2 separate regions of the Homo sapiens genome follow, and region 1 is linked to region 2. Evidence: promoter capture Hi-C in human tissues and cell types (Jung and others, 2019). All regions are on one chromosome and are shown on one strand. Each heading gives the region's core, a stretch centred on a gene start or on the middle of the fragment in contact. The rest is flanking DNA. Distances are from core to core; before and after follow the strand shown. Region 1 holds the start of CDCA4 (cell division cycle associated 4). Region 2 holds the start of BAG5 (BAG cochaperone 5).

What was found. Contacts are between HindIII fragments. The study calls those that stand out against the background at their distance.
Region 1: a contact is called between the fragment with the promoter of CDCA4 here and the fragment with the promoter of BAG5 in region 2, in 1 of the 25 tissues and cell types used here (small bowel).

Annotation. Positions count from the first base shown.
Region 1 is chr14:105,019,693-105,023,264 of GRCh38, forward strand. CDCA4 (cell division cycle associated 4) reads right to left here and starts at 1,391. Exons shown (of 2, transcript NM_017955.4): 1 at 1,307-1,391. RefSeq lists enhancers at 1-116, 568-1,083, 1,598-2,111, 2,127-2,186 and silencers at 737-826, 837-1,726, 1,757-1,826. The HindIII fragment of the contact is 13,458 bases long and covers 1-3,572 here.
Region 2 is chr14:103,560,577-103,564,391 of GRCh38, forward strand. It overlaps BAG5 (BAG cochaperone 5), which reads right to left and starts at 2,081. Exons shown (of 2, transcript NM_001015048.3): 1 at 2,040-2,081; 2 at 1-616. The coding sequence starts at 588. It overlaps COA8 (cytochrome c oxidase assembly factor 8), which reads left to right and starts at 2,384. Exons shown (of 5, transcript NM_001370595.2): 1 at 2,384-2,548. The coding sequence starts at 2,426. RefSeq lists enhancers at 686-1,199, 1,299-1,348 and a silencer at 1,689-2,338. The HindIII fragment of the contact is 22,669 bases long and covers 1-3,815 here.

The DNA of each region.
Region 1 (3,572 bases), core at 141-2,640, 1.5 Mb after region 2:
TATGTTAATTTCAGGTATTTGGTTTTTTTTGTTTTTTGAGACGGAGTCTCGCTCTGTCGCCCAGGCTGGAGTGCAATGGCACGATCTCGGCTGAGACCTCTGCCTTTCTGGTTCAAGCGATTCTCCTGCCTCAGCCTCCCACATAGCTAGGATTATGATTACAGGCATGCGCCATCACGCCCAGCTAATTTTTGTATTTTTAGTACAGACGGGGTTTCACCACGTTGGCCAGCTAGTCTCGAACTCGGGACCTCAGGAGATCCACCCGCCTAGGCCTCCTCTCAAAGTGCTGGGAGGTGTGAGCTACCGCGCCCAGCCAATTGCAGGTACTTTTGTTACTTGGAACGAAACACACTCCTTCTTTTCCCTGAAAACATGTTCCAGTGGCAAGTTGAGGGAAACTTCCTAGCCCCTTTTCCAAGATACAGCCTACTACTCTTCCTAGAAAAGGGGTGTAACTCACTTTGTATTCTGGATTTCCACCCTAATTATAAAACACGGTGACACTTGAAAATAGAGTGGTTGTACGTAGAAAGTTGATAAAACGTAAGTTTTGTGAACAGGCAATGTTTTTCTGTGGCTCGCTTTGAGAGAACGGTTATCTGGGTCCCGCCGTCCCGTGCGTCCCACACGAAGGCCACAGGAGAAGCGAGGCAGCGGAGACCCTCTATTCCAGCAAGCTGTCGGAGCCTTTGCCACGACGATCCTGTTTGCGGGGCGAGAAGCGTCTGAAGACGCGGAGGGAGGCTTGCGTCTGACTTCTGCAAGTGTCTCGGGGACTTTCCCTAGTCCCACCTCGCACCGCCGGAGGAGCCCAGGGAAGACGGCGCTGGCCGACCCGCCCGGGGTCTGGGCCTCCTCCCACATCCGCGGCCCTCTCCGCGGCCGGGCTCCGACAGAGGGGGCTGCGGCGCGCCTGGCGTTCCCTCCGCTGCAACTAGAGCCGAGGTACGGGAAACGCCGCTGCGTACCCCAGCCGGGCCCTCGTGAAGCGGCTCCCGCGTGGGGCCGCCCGCAGGCCTCGGCAAAGCCCCAGCTCCGCGCTCCGCAAGGAACGCAGACGGCGGCCCGGGCCCCTCTGTTCCCCGGGCCCCCTCAGCAGCGGCCACCCCGCGGGGGAACCAGCGCCCAGGAGGGCGGCGAGGGCGCCGCGGCAGCCCCAGCGGTGGTCCCGGGCGCCGCCTCCGCCCCGGACCCAGCGCCAGGAGCCACAGACTCCGCGCACCGCCCCCAGGCTCCTCCGCGCCCTGCAGCACAAAAGTGCACGCCGCCGTAGACGCCCTAGCGGTCCGCCGGGCCCGCTCACCTGACCCGCGAGGCCGCCCGCCGGGTCCTCTGCTCAGCCACCGCCACCGCCGCTGCCGCCAGCTTCCCGCCGCTGAGGAAGGAGCGCCCGACGGCGCGGGGCGGGGCGAGCGACCGCCACTCGGCGTCCACAAAGGGTCGACGCTGCGCTCTCCGCGCGCTACGCCCGCTGATTGGCCACTCGCGGGCCGGGGGCGGGGCCTCTTGTTCAAACCCACGCGGGCGGGGCATCTGTGGCGCGTCTTCCCGCGCTGCGGCGACGGCCGTTGGGGCTCGCGCGCGCCCTCGGTTGCCCCGCCCCCGCCCCTGCGCCCGGCCCCGCCACGCCCACGCCCCGCCGGCTCCCAGGTCTCCCCGCGCCCAGTCCGGCCCCGCCCCGCCAGCTCCCAGGTCTCCGCGCGTCTGGCCCTGAACTGAACGCGCCTGCGCCTGGGGCCCACGTGGGGCCCTCGGGCGGGCGTGGCGGGGCAAACAGAGGTTTGGACTCTCTCGCTTCTGCCTGGCTCAACTTCTCCGCCGAGGCATCCGTGCCGGGGTCGGGAGGAGCCGGGCACGGCAATTCCCGGGCGGTCTGGGCTCCGAGGTCTATCCAAGCCTCTCCAGAGACCGGGGTTATCTCCAAAGGCTTCCTAGGTTTACACGTAAGAAATGTAACGTGAAAGTTCAAAGCAGGGGACACGTGTTTTAAATCTCTTAGTGGAAAAGGTTTTAAATAGGATGCGAGAACCTGCAATCATTGACTTAAGTAATACCCTGAGCGCCTGCAGCAGGCCCGGCAGGCGTGGCTGCAGCTGAGAGCCAAGTGCTGGAAGTTGGGGGGGAATCCTCAGATCAATCCGCAGGTGCGGATGCGCCAAGGTCGGTGGTAAATGCTGAAATGCTGTCGGGAAACCTGGGAGTGACGTGGGGGCGCTGCTCACATAGGTCTCTAGGATAAGGAGCGTCTTAAAGCACCAAAAGGAAGAGTGGACGAGAATTCAGGAGAGGAATGGCTGGGGCAAAGCCCGAGGCAGGGGCAGGAGGCAGGAGCACGTCTCAGTGCAGTGAGAAAGAACCCTGTGATCTCGTGGGAAAGTTTTAAGTGTGAGGGGTGGAGGGACTTTTGGGCTATTCTGGGAGTGGGATGGAGACTACTGGCATGGTCAGCAGAGAAGGAACTGGAATCTGAATTGTGCTTGAAAAGAATCACTGTTCTTATTTAAAAAAAAAAAAAAGGGGGTCTCTTTCGCCCAGGCTGGACAACAGTGGCGTGATTATGGCTCACTGTATCCTCGAACTCTTGTGCTCGAGTGATTCTCACGCCTCAGCCTCCCAAGTAGCTGGGACTACAGAAGTGTGCCACTACACCAAGCTAACTTTTTTTTTTTTTTTGGTAATTTTGTAGAGACAGGGTATTGTCTTGTTACACAGGCTGGTCTCCAACTCCTGGCCTTAAGTGATCCTCCTACCTTGGCCTCCCAAAGTTCTGGGATTACAGGCATGAGGCACCACAACCACCAAGAATCACTGTTGGTAATAGATTTGGAGGAGGTGGCAGGAAGGCTGGAAGTAGAAAATCCCATTAGGTTACTGCCCAGGTAAAAGAAAATGGGACTTGATAAAGGTGACTACCTGAGAATTTAAAGTTTATGCATGTCAAAGTGAAAAGACAAATGGGGAAAAAAGTTTTTCCTGGCTGTATCCCACATAAAGGTTAAATTCCTTAATATACAGATATTCTGCAAATGCAAATGAAATCTAGATCACCAAAGAAAAGTGGTTTGGAAATAGTGGCACCCACCTGTAATCCCAGCTACTCAGGAGGCTGGGGTGAGAGAATCCCTTGAGCCCAGGAGTTGGAGGCTGCAGTGAACTATGATTGCACCACTGCACTCCAGCCTGGGCAGCAGAGTGAGACCCCATCTCTTAAAAAAAGAAAAGAAAAGTGGGCGTAGAATATAAACACAGTTCAGAGCAAAGAAAATACAAATGCTCCTATACAGGCGAATAGATGCTCAGCCCCAATCAGAACAAGAGCAGTGGAAATTAAAGCTATGCTGGAGTGCTGTTTGCCACGGGTCAAATTGGCAAAGATCTAAAATAATGTCTGGAGTAAGATAATATCTTCCAGAGCATATTAGTCTATTCTCATGCTGCTAATAAAGACATACCCGAGACTGGGTAATTTATAAAGAAAAAGAGGTTTAATGGACTCGCAATCATGGCAGGAGACAAAGGAAAAGCGAAGGGACGTCTTACACGGCGGCAGGCAAGAGAGCGTGTGCAGG
Region 2 (3,815 bases), core at 831-3,330:
GGCCTTGTTCACCTCACACATCACGAAGTTGATTTTGGCAACGGAAGGATGTGCATCCTCGGAAAGCGGCAGGGAAGGCTGCTTTTTCATGCAGTCTTCGATTATCTCTTGCACCGCACAGATTTTGGTTAAAGTGTGATACCTTGCTTTCCGCAAGGAGATTTTTCCTCCAGTTTTAACATGTGTCAGCCTCAGAATGATATCTTGGATGCCTTCTTCAAACTCATCAGTTACGCAGTTGCCTCCATTATAAAATGGCACAATTTTCTCTCTCACGAGGGACTGGGCTTCCTCAAAAATGTTCTGTATTTCAATCCGGTGTGGGTGGTTTGCATTCTGCTCCAACTCTTTGAGAAGACGTTCTGTCTCCTGTGCTGCCCGCTTCCTAGCTTGCTGAATATCTCCTTTTCCTTCAGTATCTACAGAGTCTATTTCAAAAAGCTGTTTTGTTAGAATCCTCTCCAGTTTCTTGTAATTCTTGTCATCTGACAGACCACTGAAGCCGATAACTTGCTGTTCTACACTTTTTACTTCCTTTTGGATTTCCTGAAGCCTACTAATAGAAGGATGTTGGTTTCCCATATCCATACTTTTGTTGTGTTCAGTTTCACAAGCACTAAAAGACGACAAGAATGATAACTTACTACAGCACAAGGCTTCTGCAGAACACTAATGGTATATTAAGTCATTCTAAAATTCTCATTTTAAAAAGGTATACTTCTGAGCAGTCATCCCACCTCAGCCTCCCCAGTAGCTGGGTCTACAGTCGTACACCACTACGCCCAGCTAATGTTATTTTTAGTAGAGACAGGTCTCACTATATTGCCCAGGCTGGTCTCAGACGATCCGCCCGCCTCCGCCTCCCAAAGTGCTGGGATTAAGGTGTGAGTCACCGTACGCGACACAAACTATTTGGAACCAGCAGGGCACCTTTATGAAAGGTGAAACAGTAGCTCTTGTAACCTTCCGAACACTAACAGTACCCCGCCCCGCCACACAGCTATGCCTAGTTTCCAGAAACTCTAAGCAAAAGAAAGAACCAGAACAAAAACCAGTGGCTCTCAGACATCCCCAAGGTCCCCGCTTCTTCGTTTCTCTCCATCCCTTTGTGCACTTCCCCTCCCCACCCTTTTAGCTCCTCACACATCTTCCCTCACAGAAGTCTCCCTGAAGAGATTAAAACCCCACAGGTAAAGAAGAGCGACCGGGACAGCGCTGAAGGGCACCACCTTGGGCTTTCGAGGCCCAACACCTCCTCAGCCCCCAACATGCTCCACTCTCTCAAAAAAAAACAACCCGCGAAAACGTGGTAACTATGAATAATTCATTCACTCGCCTCCCACTGGGAGTCCACAATGGCCTAATGCACGTTTCAAGCTCTTGGTTTCTATCAAACGGCTCGCTCAAGGTGGGTAACCAATGGAAACGCATAATCTATCCCCGGCGGATGTCCTGGAGGCCACGGAGGGAAGGCGGCCCGAGCTGCTTCCTCCCCGCCTCGCCCTTCCCTCTTGGCCCTTTACCCAAAAGAAGTCTGAATTGGATGCGGTCTTGGCGTCCCGTGGCTGAGGTGGCGAGGTGGAAGATCAGCCCTTTACGGGGTGCGGCACCGGAGCTGGGCCCCCAGCTGCATGCCTCGCACCCCTCCCGACTAGGTCTGAGCGGGGCAGCCGGTGAAGGGGCCGCTACTGGCTGCAGCAGCCGCTCCGGGCGTCTTGGCCCGGGTGCCAGGGCGCGCCTGCAGGACGTGACCTCACAATGGGCGCGCGAGGGGAGCTCGGCCCGGCCGGGGGAAGCCGGGGGAGGAGGGGAACCGAGGCCCGGCCGGAGACACCAGAGACCAGGCCCGGCCAGCCCCGGTCGCTTCCGACCCCAGGGGCGGGGACAGCGCCGAGACCGACTCTGCCCTGCCTGATCCGACAGGCCGCACGGGGCTGGGCGCTGGCGAAGGGGTGGCCCAGCGGGGAGCCCCGCGCGGAGGTGGTGCCCCACTCGTCCCCCCGAGAGAGGGAAAAGGCTACAAGCCGCGCTTCGCTCACCTGTCCCGCCCGCGCCATCGCGCGATGCGTCGCCGACGCTTCCACGACTTCCGCAGCTCCGGCAGTCGCCCGGGCCCGGCAGCCCCGCCCCTGGCCGAACACCCCTAAACCCGGGGACACCTCCTCCGGCGTCCGCGCCTAGCCGCCGGCAGCGCCACGCCCACCGCCAGCGGCGCAGCGAGGCAGCCTGGAGTGACCGCGACCAAGGAGCGGCCGCCCGGGTCAGCCCGCGCCGCCCGCCGCCCCCTCACCCCGTCGCACCGCTGGGAAAGCGCACGGTCGGCCGCGCCGCCGCGCTTCCTCGGGCTTCGCGACCCTGCCGTAAAGCGGCCCCTCGCGCCGTCGCAATGCTGCCGTGCGCCGCGGGAGCCAGGGGGCGTGGGGCCATGGTGGTCTTGCGGGCGGGGAAGAAGACCTTTCTCCCCCCTCTCTGCCGCGCCTTCGCCTGCCGCGGCTGTCAACTCGCTCCGGAGCGCGGCGCCGAGCGCAGGGATACGGCGCCCAGCGGGGTAAGCAGGGGCCTGGGGACATTGGGCCGGGAGGGGTGACCGGAAGGGAAGACAAACCCGGGCCTCGGGGCCACTCCCTGTTCTGCACAGCCGCCTCAGGCCTTTGTCCAGGTGCTCTCGCGTCCTATCCCGAACAGTCCCGCAGCCCCGAGGCTCCCGCATCAACGCCCTCAGTCGGATGGGACTGAGGGTGCCGCCGCCACCACGCCGGGGACTGTTGACAGCCAGAACCTTTAAGCGTAACAGAGTCACCTGGCAAGTTTGTACCTACCTTATTTGTTCCCGAGAATGATTATTTTTTATTTTTAAAGAGCTCTTGGCTTACCGTGCGTTTTTTTTCGTTGTGTGTGTGTGTGTTTTGGCTTTGTTACAATTATTAGTGCTTTTCTTCAAGCGGCGAGCACTTTATCATCGTACTTTTGTAGCACTTCACGTTGAATAGTTGTTATTTGCAAACTATGTGTGGGTATATGCATGTTACTGGCCAAAGATCCGCAAAGAATGTCTGTAGCAAGAATGTCTGTGGCAAGCAATTTTTATAAGTGGTACTTTTGGGAGGGATGTTTTGTTTAAGGGAGGCCTAGGCCTTGATTCCGTCTGTCAGATGAAAATGTTGACTAACGGTGTGGAATGGGCTGGAGATAAAATATTCAAGCAAAGCATGCAAATACCAAACAGGCTAATGAAGGAGGCTGGAAAACTTGGTTTAAACAATAATTAAAGAAGTATTAAAAAAGTGTTAATTAAAAATTGGACGGGCTCCGTGGCTCACGCTTGTAATCCCAGCACTTTGGGAGGCCGAGGCAAGCGGATCACGAAATCAAGAGGTGAGACCATCCTGCCCAACATGGTGAAACGTCTCTGCTAAAAATACAGAAATTAGCTGGGCATAGTGGCGCGCGCCTGTAGACCCAGCTACTCGGGAGGATGAGGCAGGAAAATCGCTTGAACCCGGGAGACGGAGGTTGCTGTGAGTCGAGATCGCGCCACTGCACTCCAGCCTGGCGACAGAGGGAGACTTCATCTCAAAAAAAAAAAAGCTAATTAAAAATTGCAAATGTACTTGCTTGTACATTTTCATTTCTGTTGGGCTGTGGCTGTTAGTACACTTTCATAATTGTAGCTTTGAAGGTCTATCTAGTTTACAATTTAAACAAGGAGTTACCAGGGCAACTTGCCAACCAGACACCCAAGTGGCTAGCTCAGTTCTGTGTTACAGTGACCAAGTCCTTGCCTTCTATCCCTAGAACATAGAAACCCACCCAGC